Regions from separate parts of the Homo sapiens genome. Here region 1 is linked to region 2. Evidence: promoter capture Hi-C in human tissues and cell types (Jung and others, 2019). All regions are on one chromosome and are shown on one strand. Each heading gives the region's core, a stretch centred on a gene start or on the middle of the fragment in contact. The rest is flanking DNA. Distances are from core to core; before and after follow the strand shown. Region 1 has its middle 4.6 kb from the start of ZNF548. Region 2 holds the start of TRIM28 (tripartite motif containing 28).

Region 1 (3,434 bases), core at 749-3,248, 1.2 Mb after region 2:
ACCCTCATGACCAGAACACCTCCTATTAGGCCCCACCTCAAACATTGGAAATTAAATTTCAACATGAGCTTTGGAAGAGACAAACATCCAAACCATAGCATATGATTTCTTACAAATTCTGGCTGTTGGGAAACCAAAAATGGGGAATGAGAATTAAGTTGCTGGCTTATGTTCAAGTAAGGAAAAAATTTATCTCTGCCCCAAATCCATAATCATAAACAAGAAACCACCATTAATTAGAGATAACTTGGGATGTGTACCTATGCTTTAAAAGTCAGCTAGTCAGCAAAAGCTTCACCCCAGTAATTAACCAGAAACTTAGCAAATCATTGTTAGGCCAAGATTCTAAAATTTTTCCAATGGGGGTAAGGCCCAGTACTAAAGATGGTCAATCAGTGGCAGCCCCAGGCTGCTGGCAACAACTAATCCACAAGTGCCTCCTGTCAGTAATCCTGTTTATGAAAGCCAGTTGGTAAATGGTTGCATTTACACTAACATACCTGAAAGTCCATCAGTCTTTCAACTCTGCTGCTTCTGAAAGTCCTCAGTCCCTGAAGGCCAGCCTTCCTAAAAGCTCATATAATAGCAGTTTTGGCTTTGTTTGAGGAGACTGCCTGACCACTACAGCTCTGCCCTGCAGACAAATAGGAATATCACTTTTTTTCCCTTGAGATATCAAAATCTATTTATTCTTTTTTTTTTTTTTGAGACGGAGTCTCACTCTGTCGCTGGGCTGGAGTGCAGTGGTGTGATCTCGGCTCACTGCAACCTCCGCCTCTCCGGTTCAAGTGATTCTCCTGCCTCAGACTCTCAAGTAGCTGGAACTACATATGCACGCCACCACGCCCAGTTAATTTTTTTGTATTTTTAGTAGAGACGGGATTTCACCATGTTGGCCAGGATGGTCTCGATCTCTTGACCTCATGATCCGCCTGCCTCGGCCTCCCAAAGTGCTGGGATTACAGGCATGAGCCACCACGCCTGGCCCCATTTATTCTTAATTGAATATAAATTATTACTTATATTTTAATTATATGAATATAATTTAAAAGTTTGCAAGCTTTCAATGGTTCCATCTGTTTGTAATTAGTTATGAGTTTGGATATGAAATGGTAGACTAACTGACCCAGACATACATTGTAAAATCCAACGTTTTCTCCAGTGTTTTCTTTTTTCTTTCTTTTCTTTTTTTTTTTTAAGATACAGTTTCACTCTGTCACCCAGCTGGAGTGCAGTGGCGCAATCTCGGCTCACTGCAACCTCTGGCTCCCAGGTTCAAGTGATTCTCATGCCTCAGCCTCCCAAGTAGCTGGGATTACAGGCGCGTGGCACCATGCCTGGCTAATTTTTTGTATTTCTATTAGAGATGGGGTTTCGCCATGTTGGCCATACTGGTCTCGAACTCCTGACCTCAAGTGATCTGTCCGCCTAGGCCTCCCAAAGTGCTGCGATTACAGGCATGAGCCACTGTACCCACAATGTTTTTCAACTCTTGTAGAAGTTGCTATTGTCTATATTTTGAGTATATTGAATGCAAAAAATGTCAAAATGCAAGTTTATAATTTATGATGAACTGAGGAGTATTTAAAATTCCCTTTGAAGGTCTTCGACTCTATGTAATTGCCCATTGACTAATGAAAATGGTGGACAGTCAAATATATATTAACTTTGGAAGGTGCATGATTTTCTCAACTAGTTCCAAAGAAAGAGACAAAATAACTTTTTTGTTAAAATCAGATGGAGATGGTAGAATAATTATAATAGAGTTTGTAATGTTTTCTACACTGTTTATCATCATGAGTCTTTAGGCTCAGAATGCTACTGTTGAGTGTGTTTCTCATTAATGAATGTCCAATAGATAAAGGAATGAAATAAGTTGAATATGACAAATGACGAAGGTTTGTCACAACATAAATGGCATCAAGACTGTAACTGCAGGAATTCTGTAAGCAAATTATATAAAACAAGGAATTGTTAAGTAGAAGCAAATTATCAGGGAAAGAGTTATGTCATTAGAACTGTGATCCCCAAGCTTTTTAGTACCAGGGACCGGTTTTGTGGAAGACAATTTTTCCATGGATAAGGGAGAGGGGTTTGGGGGCAGATGGTTTCAGAGGCATTAGATTCTCATAAGGAGCATACAACCTAGATCCCTCTCTTGTGCAGTTCACAGTAGGGTTTGCACCCCTATGAGAATCTAATGCTGCTGCCGATCTGACAGGAGGCGGAGATCAGGCAGCAATGCTCACTCATCTGCCACTCACCCTCTGCTATATGGCCCCATTCCTAACAGGCCATAGTACTCATCTGTGGCCCCAGGGGTTGGGGACCCCTGATTTAGAATGTATTTCAGATAAACAACAAATAATTTTATGATGAGTATGTCACATACAATATTTATCTTTTATCTCACTGCACATATACATAGGGAATTAGAAATAATTCAAATTTAACCAGGTCAAGTATCAGTTACAAAATTTGACAATTCTTTTCATCGTAATTTTTTTCTGAACCTATGCATTATATTGAGCATCCTCATTTTTGAACCTAGTAACTCATTCACAGAATTTCTGCTACCCTTCTTCTTTTTTCTTTTTTTCTTTTTTTTTTTTTGAGACAGAATCTTGCTCTGTCACCCAGGCTGGAGTGCATTGGCGCGATCTCAGCTCACTGCAACCTCTGCCTCCCGGCTTCAAGCGATTCTTCTGCCTCAGCCTCCTGAATAGCTGAGATTATAGGCGCCCGCCACCATGCCCGGCTAATTTTTTTTTTTGCCCTGTCGCCCAGGCTGGAGTGCAATGGCATGATCTCAGCCCACTGCAACCCCCTCTTCCCGGGTTAAAGCAATTCTCCTGCCTCAGCCTCCCGAGTAGCTGTGATTACAGGCACGCACCACCACGCACAGCTAATTTTTTGTATCTTTAGTAGAGATAGGGTTTCACCATGTTGGCCAGGCTGGTCTCGAACTCCTGACCTTATGATCTGCCTGCCTCGGCCTCCCAAAGTGCTGGGATTACAGGCTTGAGCCACTGTGTCTGGCCACTTCTTCTTAATTGTAAATTCTGCTGGTTGGGGGCCCTTTGTTCCAAGGAAGGAGAGGTTCCACCAGAAGTAAATATTATTACATTTAATTGAAGGGTGATACAGCTACTTGTTCATCTGGGGATCCTTGTGTCACTTAAGCAAGAAGGGATTGCTTTTTTGCTTTGGATGAGTTAGGCTGAGTTGCTGCCATGGAATGGGAAGCATAGAGAGTTATGTCTGAGACCAGGGGATTTCTGGGGGATGTTTTGGTAAGTTCATGTTCAGAAATAAAACTAGCAACTCATCGAAGGGAGGACTTCTAAGAATCAGAAGTTTAGGTTTTGATATTTGGGGACATCCTCCAGGTTAAAAAACAAACAAAACCAAAATGCTACCCAGCTGAAGATCCG
Region 2 (3,744 bases), core at 339-2,838:
GCCCACCCAGAGCCTTGGGAAAGTGGAGTAACAGCCTGGAGCTGGTGCCAAGCTCCTCCTGCGCAGATGCCCCCTCCCCAGAAACCTCCTTGTGGTTGCTGAGATAGGACGCACCTGGTTCGCATCCTGGGCGTCGGTGGCAGCCTTGCTGCCACTATCACGCATGAAATAATTCTCCACGATGTCTTTGGAGAAGCACTGTTGCTTGCACACGGGACAGTCCACCACTTCGAGAAGCAGGGATGTGGGAGACTGTTACAAGTTCCCACCCAGGTTATGGCCCCCACCATTCCCCTGCTGGGTGGGCCCCCGACCATTATCCCGCAGCGAACCAGCCCCTCCCCTCCCCGAGCCTTCTTTTCTCCAACTTTAGTCAGATGTCCCATCTCAGCGGCCAGCACAAACCCACGTTCGTATGCAGGACCCAGAAAGTATTTCCCGTGCCCTGTCCGGGCCCCCATCCTCTCGCCCAGGTGGCATCCTCATCTCTGCACCCAGTCGGAATCAAAGGCAGAGAGTAGGGGGAGGGGTGGCACCGATCACTTCGTACTTACCGGTGCCGTCGCCCGCCGCCCCGCCGTCCCCCGAGCTGTTGGCGGCGGCGGGGGCCGCGGGCCCTAAGCAGGCACTACAGGCCGAGTGCAAACAGGGCAGCAGGCGGGGCTCCCTCTCGGGTCGCAGGCGCTCTCTGCACACGCCGCAGTGCTCCAGCAGCTCCAGCGCCTCGGCGCCGCCCCCCGCGGGCGACGACGCCGCGGCTGAGGCAGAGGCCGAGGCTGCGGCCGAAGGGGCGGTGGAGCGCTTTTCGCCGCCAGCGGAGCCCTCGCCCGGGCCCGGGCTGCCAGAGGCGGCCGAGGCCGCTGCTGCCGAGGCTGCCGCCGCGGAGGCCGCCATTCACACGCCGCCGGGGGCGCCCAGGGGGGGAGGAGGGGCGCGGGGCCCGCCGCGCAGGCGCAGACGCGCTCGCCGCCAACTGCTGGGCCGCTGCCGCCGCCGCCGCCGCGAGGCCGAGCGCCGCCACGCGCCTCCTGGGCCGCTGCCCGCCGCGCGCGGGACGCTGCTACGGCACGGCCAACTGCTGCCTGCTCGCCTCCCGAAGGCGCCGCCCGCGCTTCTTCCTCAGCCGCCGCCGAAACCCGCACCACGCGCCACAAGCACAAGCACAACCGCTCGCCCGCGCGCCCGCTCGCAGAAAGAGCCGAGGCCGGGGGGCGGGACAGAAATAACTGGCGCCGACGCCGCCGCGCACGCGCATTGGGCGCCTCACGCCCGGGGGCGGGGCCCAGGCCGGTCGGTGCGGGAGAGGCCGCCAGTACGCACGCGCCAACTCCTAGTCCTTCCACCACCGCCAACCCCACGTCGGTGGGGCTCTTGTGGGGGCGGGGCGGGGCCTCTGTGACGTCACTGCCGCAATTGAATCCGCCAGTGGGGTATGCGAACCTTTATAGAGTGTGATTCCCCTCTCAGCTCCACCTCCAGACCACACAGAAGCGGGCCGCTGTGCGCCCAAGCGCATGGGCAATCCGTCCCTCTTCCTCAACCCGCGTCTCTTCGCCGCCGTAGAGTCGTCTCCAGCCTCTGCGTCACTAAGAGTTCGGGATAGGGGGCAGGGCCGATGGAGAAGTAGGCGGGGCCAAGACCGAGTGAAGGGCTGTGTCCAGGGAGAGGGGAGGAGAGTCTCCATCCCAAGAGGGAGGAAGCTCCTGTGTGAGCTCGGGTGCTGACTTTTGGATTTTAACCACGCTATAGTTAAACTTGAGAAACACAGAAACTTGACTGAATCAAATGTAGATCACAGCCGGGCGCCGTGGCTCATACCTGTAATCCCACCACTTTCTTAGGCGAGTCGGGAAGCTCCGTTTAGCCCAGGAGGCCGAGGCAGCAGTGAGGCGGGATTGTGCCACTGCACGCCAGCCTAGACCACAGATGGAGAAAAATGTGGCCGGGCGCGGCGGCTCACGCCTGTAATTCCAGCACTTTGGGAGGTCGAGGCGGTTGGATCTTAAGTCAGGAGTTCGAGAGCAGCCTGGCCAACGTGGTGAAACCCCGTCTCTACTAAAAGTACAAAAAGTAGCCGGGCGTGGTGGCAGGCGCCTGTAATCCCAGCTACTCGGGAGGCTGAGGCAGGAGAATCGCTTGAACCCGGGAGGCGGAGGTTGCAGTGAGCCGAGATCGTGCCATTGCACTACAGCCTGGGAGAAAAGAGTGAAACTCCATCTCAAAAGAGGAGAGAAAGGTTTTTGTGTTTGTTTTGAGACGGAGTTTTGCTCTGTTGCCCAGGCTGGAGTGCAGTGGCACGATCTCGGCTCGCTGCAACCTCCGCCTCCCGGGTTCAAGCGATTCTTCTGCCTCAGCCTCCCGAGTAGCTGGGATTACAGGGGCCTGCCATCACGCCTGGCTAATTTTTGTATTTTTAATAGAGACGGGGTTTCACCACGTTGGCCAGGCTGGTCTCGAACTCCCGACGTCAGATGATAGACCCACTTTGGCCTCCCAAAGTGCTGGAATTACAGGTGTGAGCCACCACGCCGGGCCCCCCAACCCCCCATCAAGAAAAAAAATATATATATATATATACACATATATATAAATCACAAGAGGCTAAAGAGCAATGAGTCTGTGAAATCCCACCCAGCCCCCCAAGGCATCCCCTCCCCATGTTTTCGTCAGCAGCTACCCTGACTTTGATGCTTTTCCAGATGGGGAAACTGAACCTCAACAGTGGGGAATCCCAAGGAGGGAAGGAAGCAGGTCCATGTGGGGAGAATCCTGTCTGAGGTGGAAAGTAGGGTTTGTGTGGGGAAAATCCTGTCTGAGGGAAAGAGGGTGTGTGTGCGGAGGGGAACCCTGTCTGAGGAGGGAAGCAGGGTCTGTGTGGGGAGAATCCTGTCTGAGGAGGGAAGCAGCGTCTGTGTGGGGAGAATCCTGTCTGAGGAGGGAAGCAGGGTGTGTGTGGGGAGAATCCTGTCTGAGGAGGGAAGCAGGGTGTGTGTGGGGAGAATCCTGTCTGAGGAGGGAAGCAGGTTCTGTGTGGGGAGAATCCTGCCTGAGGAGGGAAGCAGGGTCTGAGTGGGGAGAATCCTGTCTGAGGGAAGCAGGGTCTGTGTGGGGAGAATCCTGTCTGAGGAGGAAAGTAGGGTGTGTGTGGGGAAAATCCTGTCTGAGGGAAAGAGGGTCTGTGTGGGGAGGGGAGCCCTGTCTGAGGAGGGAAGCAGGGTCTGTGTGGGGAGAATCCTGTCTGAGGAGGGAAGCAGGGTGTGTGTGGGGAGAATCCTGTCTGAGGAGGGAAGCAGGGTGTATGTGGGGAGAATCCTGTCTGAGGAGGGAAGCAGGGTGTGTGGGGGGAAAATCCTGTCTGAGGGAAAGAGGGTCTGTGTGGGGAGGGGAATCCCTGTCTGAGGAGGGAAGCAGGGTCTGTGTGGGGAGAATCCTGTCTGAGGAGGGAAGCAGGGTGTGTGTGGGGAGAATCCTGTCTGAGGAGGGAAGCAGGGTGTGTGGGGTGAGAATCCTGTCTGAGGAGGGAAGCAGGGTCTGTGTGGGGAGAATCCTGTCTGAGGAGGGAAGCAGGGTCTGTGTGGGGAGAATCCTGTCTGAGGAGGGAAGCAGGGTCTGTGTGGGGAGAATCCTGCCTGAGGAGGGAAGCAGGGTCTGTGTGGGGAGAATCCTGTCTGAGGGAAGCAGGGTCTGTGTGGGGAGAATCCTGTCTGAGGAGGAAAGTAGGGTTTGTGTGGGGAAAATCCTGTC

The links. The method cuts DNA at HindIII sites, captures the fragments that hold promoters and counts their contacts. A contact is called where the count stands out against the background at its distance.
Region 1: a fragment that was not itself captured here is called in contact with the fragment with the promoter of TRIM28 in region 2 in 1 of the 25 tissues and cell types used here (lymphoblastoid cells).

The regions. Positions count from the first base shown.
Region 1 is chr19:57,383,543-57,386,976 of GRCh38, reverse strand. No RefSeq gene overlaps it. Among named protein-coding and RNA genes, the nearest start is that of ZNF548, 4.6 kb to the left of the region's middle. The HindIII fragment of the contact is 6,124 bases long and covers 1-3,434 here.
Region 2 is chr19:58,541,908-58,545,651 of GRCh38, reverse strand. TRIM28 (tripartite motif containing 28) reads right to left here and starts at 1,588. Exons shown (of 17, transcript NM_005762.3): 1 at 555-1,588; 2 at 115-227. The coding sequence starts at 894. It also overlaps the pseudogene RN7SL525P. RefSeq lists silencers at 568-857, 878-1,037, 1,118-1,327 and enhancers at 1,448-1,757, 1,909-2,413. The HindIII fragment of the contact is 31,195 bases long and covers 1-3,744 here.